Linked DNA regions of Homo sapiens: region 1 is linked to region 2. Evidence: promoter capture Hi-C in 16 types of primary human blood cells and fetal thymus (Javierre and others, 2016). All regions are on one chromosome and are shown on one strand. The core of a region is centred on a gene start or on the middle of the fragment in contact, and the rest is flanking DNA. Distances in the headings are between cores, read along the strand shown. Region 1 holds the start of UBE2O (ubiquitin conjugating enzyme E2 O). Region 2 holds the start of TRIM47 (tripartite motif containing 47).

What was found. Contacts are between HindIII fragments. The CHiCAGO score rates a contact against its expected background, and 5 or more counts as called.
Region 1: a contact is called between the fragment with the promoter of UBE2O here and the fragment with the promoter of TRIM47 in region 2, in 7 of 17 cell types (naive CD8 T cells, non-activated CD4 T cells, activated CD4 T cells and 4 more). The highest score is 9.3, in naive CD8 T cells.

Annotation. Positions count from the first base shown.
Region 1 is chr17:76,450,576-76,454,544 of GRCh38, reverse strand. It overlaps UBE2O (ubiquitin conjugating enzyme E2 O), which reads left to right and starts at 1,393. Exons shown (of 18, transcript NM_022066.4): 1 at 1,393-1,820. The coding sequence starts at 1,404. It also overlaps a transcript of AANAT not described here. RefSeq lists silencers at 1,219-1,387, 1,182-1,721, 1,842-2,041. The HindIII fragment of the contact is 7,923 bases long and covers 459-3,969 here.
Region 2 is chr17:75,877,331-75,881,067 of GRCh38, reverse strand. TRIM47 (tripartite motif containing 47) reads left to right here and starts at 2,487. Exons shown (of 6, transcript NM_033452.3): 1 at 2,487-3,194. The coding sequence starts at 2,520. It also overlaps a transcript of TRIM65 not described here. RefSeq lists silencers at 2,303-2,652, 2,783-3,162, 3,173-3,352 and enhancers at 2,197-3,112, 3,113-3,737. The HindIII fragment of the contact is 18,500 bases long and covers 1-3,737 here.

The sequences.
Region 1 (3,969 bases), core at 144-2,643, 570 kb before region 2:
CCACGCCTGGCCCTAGAGTTACTTTTTATATTTTATTTATTTTTATTTATTTATTTTTTTGAGACAGAGTCTTGCTCTGTTGCCCAGGGTGGAGTGCAGTGGCGCGATCTGGGCTCACTGCAACCTCAGCCTCCCAGGTTCAAGCGATTTGCCTGCCTCAGCCTCCTGAGTAGCTGGGACTACAGCCATGTGCCACCACGCCCAGCTATTTTTTTTTTTTTTCCGTATTTTTAGTAGAGATGGGGTTTCGCCATGTTGGCCAGGATGGTCTCAATCTCTTGACCTCGTGATCCGCCCACCTCAGCCTCCCAAAGTACTGGGATGACAGGTGTGAGCTGCCGCGCCCGGCCTACTTTTTATATTTTAAAATGACAATATGGAGCAGACCATAACAGTTCTGCCAGTCTGGAATTTAGTCTAGGCAGGGAGTTTGGAAATAGTACAACAATGGTTAAGCTTATCGAAGGAGCTAAATGCCAGGCACTGTTCTACTTCACTTAATCCTCCAATTGCCCAATGAGATGAGTATTGCTATTATCATCCCTATTTCACAGATGAGCAAATTAAGATGAAAATAAGTTAATCAGTGTGCCTATTTTTATAGATTAGTAAGTGGCAGTGCCAAAAATTGGAATCCGTGGTCCCCACTCTTAGCTACCTTACTATACTACCTCTTGCCATTCATTCTTGGCTTCAGGGAGCTTTGAATTTATCTGCATGGATTTGTAGCCAAACCACTGGGACCACTGATCCTTTTGTTACCTTTCTCTGGGCCTCCTTCACCAGCTTCTGGGTCAACTTCTGAGGGGTCATGACGTTCGAACTGCTTGGAATTCCTGAATACAGTGCATTATACATATGCTCTACACGTATCTATTATAGCCTTACAAGTTGGAGTTGTTTGTTATCTATTTAATGTGTATTTGTTTTGTCTCCCCAACTAGACTGGAAACACCTAGAGGACAGGGACAGTATCTTTCTCTTTCTGCAATGCTCCCAGTGCCTGGGGGCTAGGCTAGGACGCCAAGGGAGCTCATTAAAAGTTGTTGACAGTCTCTCCACCATCCTGTGCCCCACCCCGACCACTCCCCTCTTCCTCGGTGGCCACTCCACTTCCTCCTCCCGGGTCCCCGCCCCTTCTCGCTCCCTTTAGTTGAATCCTCACTGGTCTCGCCCCTTCTTAGTGGATTCCATCCTGCCCCCGCCCCCCGCGGCATCTTCAGCGTCCCCTAGCGACGAGGCGGTGGCTCCTAGCAACTGCATCCCGGCTCCCTGACGACGGCGCCACGCAGGGACACGTCAGCGCGCTATGGCCCCGCCCCCGGCGCCCGCTGGTCCCGCCTCCCCGCGCCTCGTTCGCCGCCGCTGTCGCCGCCGCCGCCCGAGACTCGCGCAGAGCAGTTATGGCGGATCCCGCAGCCCCCACGCCCGCAGCTCCCGCTCCAGCCCAGGCCCCGGCTCCAGCCCCGGAGGCAGTCCCGGCCCCAGCCGCAGCCCCCGTCCCGGCGCCGGCGCCCGCCTCGGACTCGGCCTCCGGGCCGTCCTCGGACTCCGGCCCAGAAGCCGGCTCGCAGCGCCTGCTGTTTTCTCACGACCTGGTGTCGGGCCGTTACCGTGGCTCCGTGCACTTCGGGCTGGTGCGCCTCATCCACGGCGAGGACTCGGACTCGGAGGGCGAGGAGGAGGGCCGCGGGAGCTCGGGGTGCTCCGAGGCCGGGGGCGCGGGCCACGAGGAGGGCCGGGCCAGCCCCCTGCGCCGCGGCTACGTGCGCGTCCAGTGGTACCCGGAGGGCGTCAAGCAGCATGTGAAGGAGACCAAGGTGCGGCGGGCGGGGGCTGGGCGGCGCGGGCGGCAGGGGGTCGGCGGCCGGGCCGAGGCCAGGGAAGGACGGCGTGCAGGGCCCTGCCCGGAGCGGTGCCACTGCAGTGGCCGACGCGGGAGGACAGCCCCAGTGGAGGGTACACTCCATGCAAAGTCATTGCAGCAGCTCTGGGCGCACACGCCAGCCAGGCACTGCTGGCCCGGGACCGGGCGGGCCCTGGGCTTCCCGACTTGAGGGGACTTCTAAGACATGTTATGCTGTGGTGTCGGCCTCGAGATTTAGAGACGTGGACCGACTCCCGTGGGGACTCAGGTTCTGGGGCGCGTTCGGCGTTACACCAGTGCGGCGTTTTGCTGACCCCCAAGGAGCTCGGTACTGCATTGTGCATCCAGAAATGAAGGCCGTGCCGGGTCCGTGCAGGGAGGGGTTGTGGGCATTCCAAAACAAAGATAGAGGTGAAAATCCCAGCCGAACCCAAGAAGTTCACTAGCTTACAGGCTGCATTATGGTGAAGCCACCCAGCCTCTTTTTGTTTTACCCTGCTGCCTCCTTTTAATTGCTGCAGGGAACTTTGTGAGTAAAATCATTAGCAATCAGAGCCCCGGTATGAATAGTACTTGGGGGGGAGGATTCTGACAGCTGCGACCGGGATTGATGACTCCTAAGTGCATATGGACTCCTTGAAAAAAATAATCCAGAACCCTGGGTAGAGGGGAGTCACCAATTTGGAAACCCGAAGGTTTTTTCTTGACCTGAAGCTGTTAAGCAGACATCTGACTCCCGTATGGTTTTTGGGGTGATGCTAGTGAGTATAGCAGTTTTACAAAACAAAGAGGCTTGTCATCATAAACCCGAAACCTTGAACCCGGGTTGGTTTGGTGGCTTGTTTTCCAGAATGTGAATTCCTATCAGTAATTGACACACACACACACACACACACACCCCCCTGTATCTCACACCCCTTCTTTCTCTCCTACTTCCCCTCCCCTTCAAGAAAACATTTCTAAGCAGGAATCAGGCCTACGCTGTTTTAGGTCCTTGGGAGGTTGAGAGGTCTGATTTCAGGGGAGGGCACTTTGGAAGTTGATCTGGGTTTCTCACACAGTGGGAGACAAAGACTACAGAGGAACGGGGTTTCATGTCAAACTACAAAGCGGGGTCTGTGACAACGGCTTGAGAAGGAAAAAGGCCCCACTCCAGAGAAGAGCACATGATCCATTTCCTAGAGGCAGAAGTGACTGCTGATACCAGCGGGGTCTTTTTGTTGGGGATGCACATACATCCACAGACACAAATCCACACACAGGACCCTGCTTCCCCTCAGAGAAATGTGAATCAGGCAACAGCTCTGAGACTTGGAAGGAAAATTATCAGTCCATTTACAAGAGTATTTGGAAAATATTACTTTTGTGCAACAGAATGCTTGTTAAAAATTACCCAGTATTGTGTCAGTAAAAGAGGGTTATTGCTGTATACTGTGTGACACCAGATGATTGCTGGTGTCTTTCTGTGAGTTTTTAAGAATGTTTTTCACCACCCATCTATTTGAGAGATTCGTGATTTTTGGAACGCAACTCATTTGACTGCAGCATCCTCTGTGTTGTGGCCTCCTGCCCTAGGACTCAGGGAGGTAGGCCCAGCTCACTACTGGGAGCCGCTATGTTTATCAGTTGTTGTTCCCGTCCGTCTTGACTTTGGTGGTTAACTTTGTTTGCAGTTATGCTCCGTTTGCCTCCTGCACTATGTGTAATTATACAGAGTTTGACTTGAAATACCTATTTTGGAGTTAAATCGAAAACAACGGCCGGGTGTGGTAGCTCATGCCTGTAATCCCAGCACTTGGGAGGCCGAGGCGGGCGGATCACCTGAGGTCAGGAGTTCGAGACCAGCCTGACCAACATGGAGAAACCCTGTCTCTACTAAAAATACAAAATTAGCTGGGCTTGGTGGCGCATGCCTGTAACCTGAGCTACTCGGGAGGCTGAGGCGGGAGAATTGCTTGAACCAGGGAGGCGGAGGTTGCGGTGAGCTGAGATGGCACCATTGCACTCCAACCTGGGCAGCAAGAGTTAAACTCTGTCTCAAAAGAAAAGAAAAAAAAAACAACAACTTTGAGGCACCACTTTGGATAGATTTTGCAGCTGGC
Region 2 (3,737 bases), core at 1,238-3,737:
CGCCATGTTAACCAGGCTGGTCTGGAACTCGTGACCTCAAGTGATCCGCCCGCCTCAGCCTCCCAAAGTCCTGGGATTCCAGGCGTGAGCCACCACACCCGGCACATTTGTGCTCTTTTGCTTGTGTTTTCTCCTCTTTAGCTCTGAACTCATGAAGTGCCTTCTGAACATTTCTAGTCTGGTCTCAGGGGACCTGAGGGTATTTTCCCACCCCCCAAGCCTAGAGAGCTGGGGAAACAGAGGCAGGAATGCAGACCCGGTGGGAGAGGTGGACAAGGGTTTGGGTGTGGGACAAGCAGCAGTGTGTGCTGAGGTTTAGGGAAGGGCCAGGGTCCTGGAACACAGAGAGGGCCAGGAACACCGGGGGACATGCATGACCTCTAGCACATTTGGGCCTGGGCCTCTCTCCAACATTTCCTTACTTATGCACTGTTATAGGTTGAATCCTGTTCCCTGAAAAAGACGTATTCGGATCCTAACCCCCAGGACCTGTGGCTGTGACCTTATTTGGAAATAGAGTATTTTCAGATGTGACTGAGTTAAGATGAGGGCATACTGGAGTAGAGCGTGCCCTAATCCAACAACTGGTGTCCTGATAAGAGGAAATGGGCACCGGGCACAGTGGCTCACGCCTGTAATCCTAGCACTTTGGGAGGCTGAGGCAGGCAGATTACTCGAGCCCAGCAGTTTGAGTGGGCAACAGAGCAAGACTCCCTAAAAAAAAAAAAAAAAAGGACATTTGAACACAGACACAGAGAAAAGGCAAATGACAACAGAGACTGATATTAGAGCGCATCTTACAGCTACAAGCCAAGGAACGCCAAGAATTGCCAGCCAGTACCAGAAGCTGGGACAGACGCCCAGGACAGAGTCTCCCTCAGATCCTGCAGAAGGAAGCCACGCTGCAGCACCTTACTGAAACACAGCATTTCTTTCTATTCCAAATGGAGAGAATACACCAGAGTGGTATGAGCAGTTACCTGTGACTTTGTCACTAACCAAAATTACAGATATCTCTGGGTGCGGTGGCTCATGTCTGTAATCCCAGCACTTTGGGAGGCCGAGGCGGGTGGATCACCTGAAGTCAGCAGTTCGAGACCAGCTTGGCCAACATGGTGAAACCCCGTCTCTACTAAAAATACAAAAATTAGCCAAATGTGGTGGCGGGCGCCTGTAATCCCAGCTACTCAAGAGTCCGAGGAGGGAGAATCGCTTGAACCCAGGAGACAGAGGTTGCAGTGAGCTGAGATTGCGCCACTGCACTCCAGCCTGGGCGACAAGAGCGAAACTCCATCTAAAAAAATAAAAATAAAAAAACATTATTTGGAATTTTCAATGCGAAATATGTCTGTTCTCCCCAGCTTGTTAATTTATTATTTATTTATATCGGCATGGACTCATAGATGTTTATTTTACACTTTGGGTTATAATCAGTGCTACTTTACTTATTTTGTTGTCATTCTGGTGTAGTGTTTTAACTTAACATTATTGAGATATAACTCATACAATAAAACGCACCACTTTAAGTGCATAATTAGATGAGCTTTAAATACTTCCAGTTGGGGAACCCCCAACCCCACCACAGGTGTCCCCAGTGTCCAGGGGCCAGAACTACATTCCTCAGACAAGGGACTTAGGGAATGACGTCAACTTCCCATTTCAGGTCTAGAAAAGTCCAAGTTCCCTACTTGGGGTAAAGAGTCGCTAAAGGAGCTGGGCGCTGTGGCTCACGCCTGTAATCCCAGCACTTTGGGAGGCCGAGGCAGGTGGATCACCTGAGGTCACGAGTTCAAGACCAGCCTGGACAAGGTGAAACTCCGTCTCTACAAAAAAATACAAAAATTTGCCTGGTGTGGTGGCAAGCGCCTATAATTCCAGCTACTTGGGAGGCTAAGGCAGGAGAATCACTTGAATCCGGGAGGCGGAGGTTGCAGTGAGCCGAGATAGCGCCCCTGCACTCCAGCCTGGGCGACAAGAGAGGAACTCTGTCTCAAAAAAAAAAAAAAAAAGAGTCGCTAAGGGGCAAAAACATATGTACATCAGCAGTTATTTTTCTCTGCAGTCAGCAGCTCAGGAACTTTGCTAAGGGTGCCAGGGAGGGGTCGAGCGCAAAGGTGCAGGCATGACACAGCTAGACGCGCCCAGCCCCTGCGGAGCGCTGGCCTGGCCCAGAAGGACCAGAGGGATGGAGGCTGAGTCCTTCCCATTCCTTCCACTGTACCTCTCGCGTTCTCCGCCCGCGCTCACTCAGTTTCACACCCTTTCAGCAGCGCCCTTCCTTAGGACCACGCGGACTCCCCTGGGGGTCGCGCGGGCTCGGAGGCCTCCCTGCGTTGTCTGGGCGGGGACTGGGAGTCCGCGGGCCCGCAGGCGGGCGGTGCTGCGGGGCGGGCCGAGCTGGGGGCGGGCGGGGGCCGGAGCCCTGGCCTAGGTCCCAGGGGGAGGTGCCGCGGCGCGAACGGCCCGGGTCCCTCCCAGGCCGGAGCACAATCGGCGGCGCCCTGGGCGGCCGCGGAGTCATGGACGGCAGTGGACCCTTCAGCTGCCCCATCTGCCTAGAGCCACTCCGGGAGCCGGTGACGCTGCCCTGCGGCCACAACTTCTGTCTCGCCTGCCTGGGCGCGCTCTGGCCGCATCGTGGCGCGAGTGGAGCCGGCGGACCCGGAGGCGCGGCCCGCTGCCCGCTGTGCCAGGAGCCCTTCCCCGACGGCCTTCAGCTCCGCAAGAACCACACGCTGTCCGAGCTGCTGCAGCTCCGCCAGGGCTCGGGCCCCGGGTCCGGCCCCGGCCCGGCCCCTGCCCTGGCCCCGGAGCCCTCGGCACCCAGCGCGCTGCCCAGTGTCCCGGAGCCGTCGGCCCCCTGCGCTCCCGAGCCGTGGCCCGCGGGCGAAGAGCCAGTGCGCTGCGACGCGTGCCCCGAGGGCGCGGCCCTGCCCGCCGCGCTGTCCTGCCTCTCCTGCCTCGCCTCCTTTTGCCCCGCGCACCTGGGCCCGCACGAGCGCAGCCCCGCCCTCCGCGGACACCGCCTGGTGCCGCCGCTGCGCCGGCTAGAGGAGAGCCTGTGCCCGCGCCACCTACGGCCGCTCGAGCGCTACTGCCGCGCGGAGCGCGTGTGTCTGTGCGAGGCCTGCGCCGCACAGGAGCACCGCGGCCACGAGCTGGTGCCGCTGGAGCAGGAGCGCGCGCTTCAGGAGGTGGGCTCCGGGGGCACACTCGGGTGAGCCGGGGCTGGTGACCGACCGCGCGCGAGCGGGCCGAGGACCTTGGACCCCCCAGTCTTCCCGGGTTGGGTCTTAATCTCCTCCTCTAACCTGAGGATCTTTGCGGTCCCTTCCAGCCTTGACAAGGTCATCTGCTGGCGGTGATGGAGATGGGAAGGGAGGAAGGAGGGACGTGAGAACAGGACAAGGACGCGAAGAGCGGGCAGGGGACCTGAAGCCGGGCCGGGGTCTATGGGGGTGTAGGCGGGAGGGAGCCGGGTTAGGCCCGCGGGGTTCCGGTAGCGTGGCTGCTGCTCCCGCCCGGAGGGTCACGCCGGTCTCAGCTCAGATTTGCCCTGGGCTGAGGCAGCAGCTTTCGATGGGTGTGGCAGGCGGCAGGAGGGCGGCAGAGGGCGACCGGGCACACAGATTCTCTGTCCAGCTGTTCCGGGGGCCAGTGGTGGGAGCATGTGAGCCGCGGCCTCTACCTCCCGCCCCCAGTTTCCTTTGGCCTCCAGCCCGGTCTTGGCGCCTCTG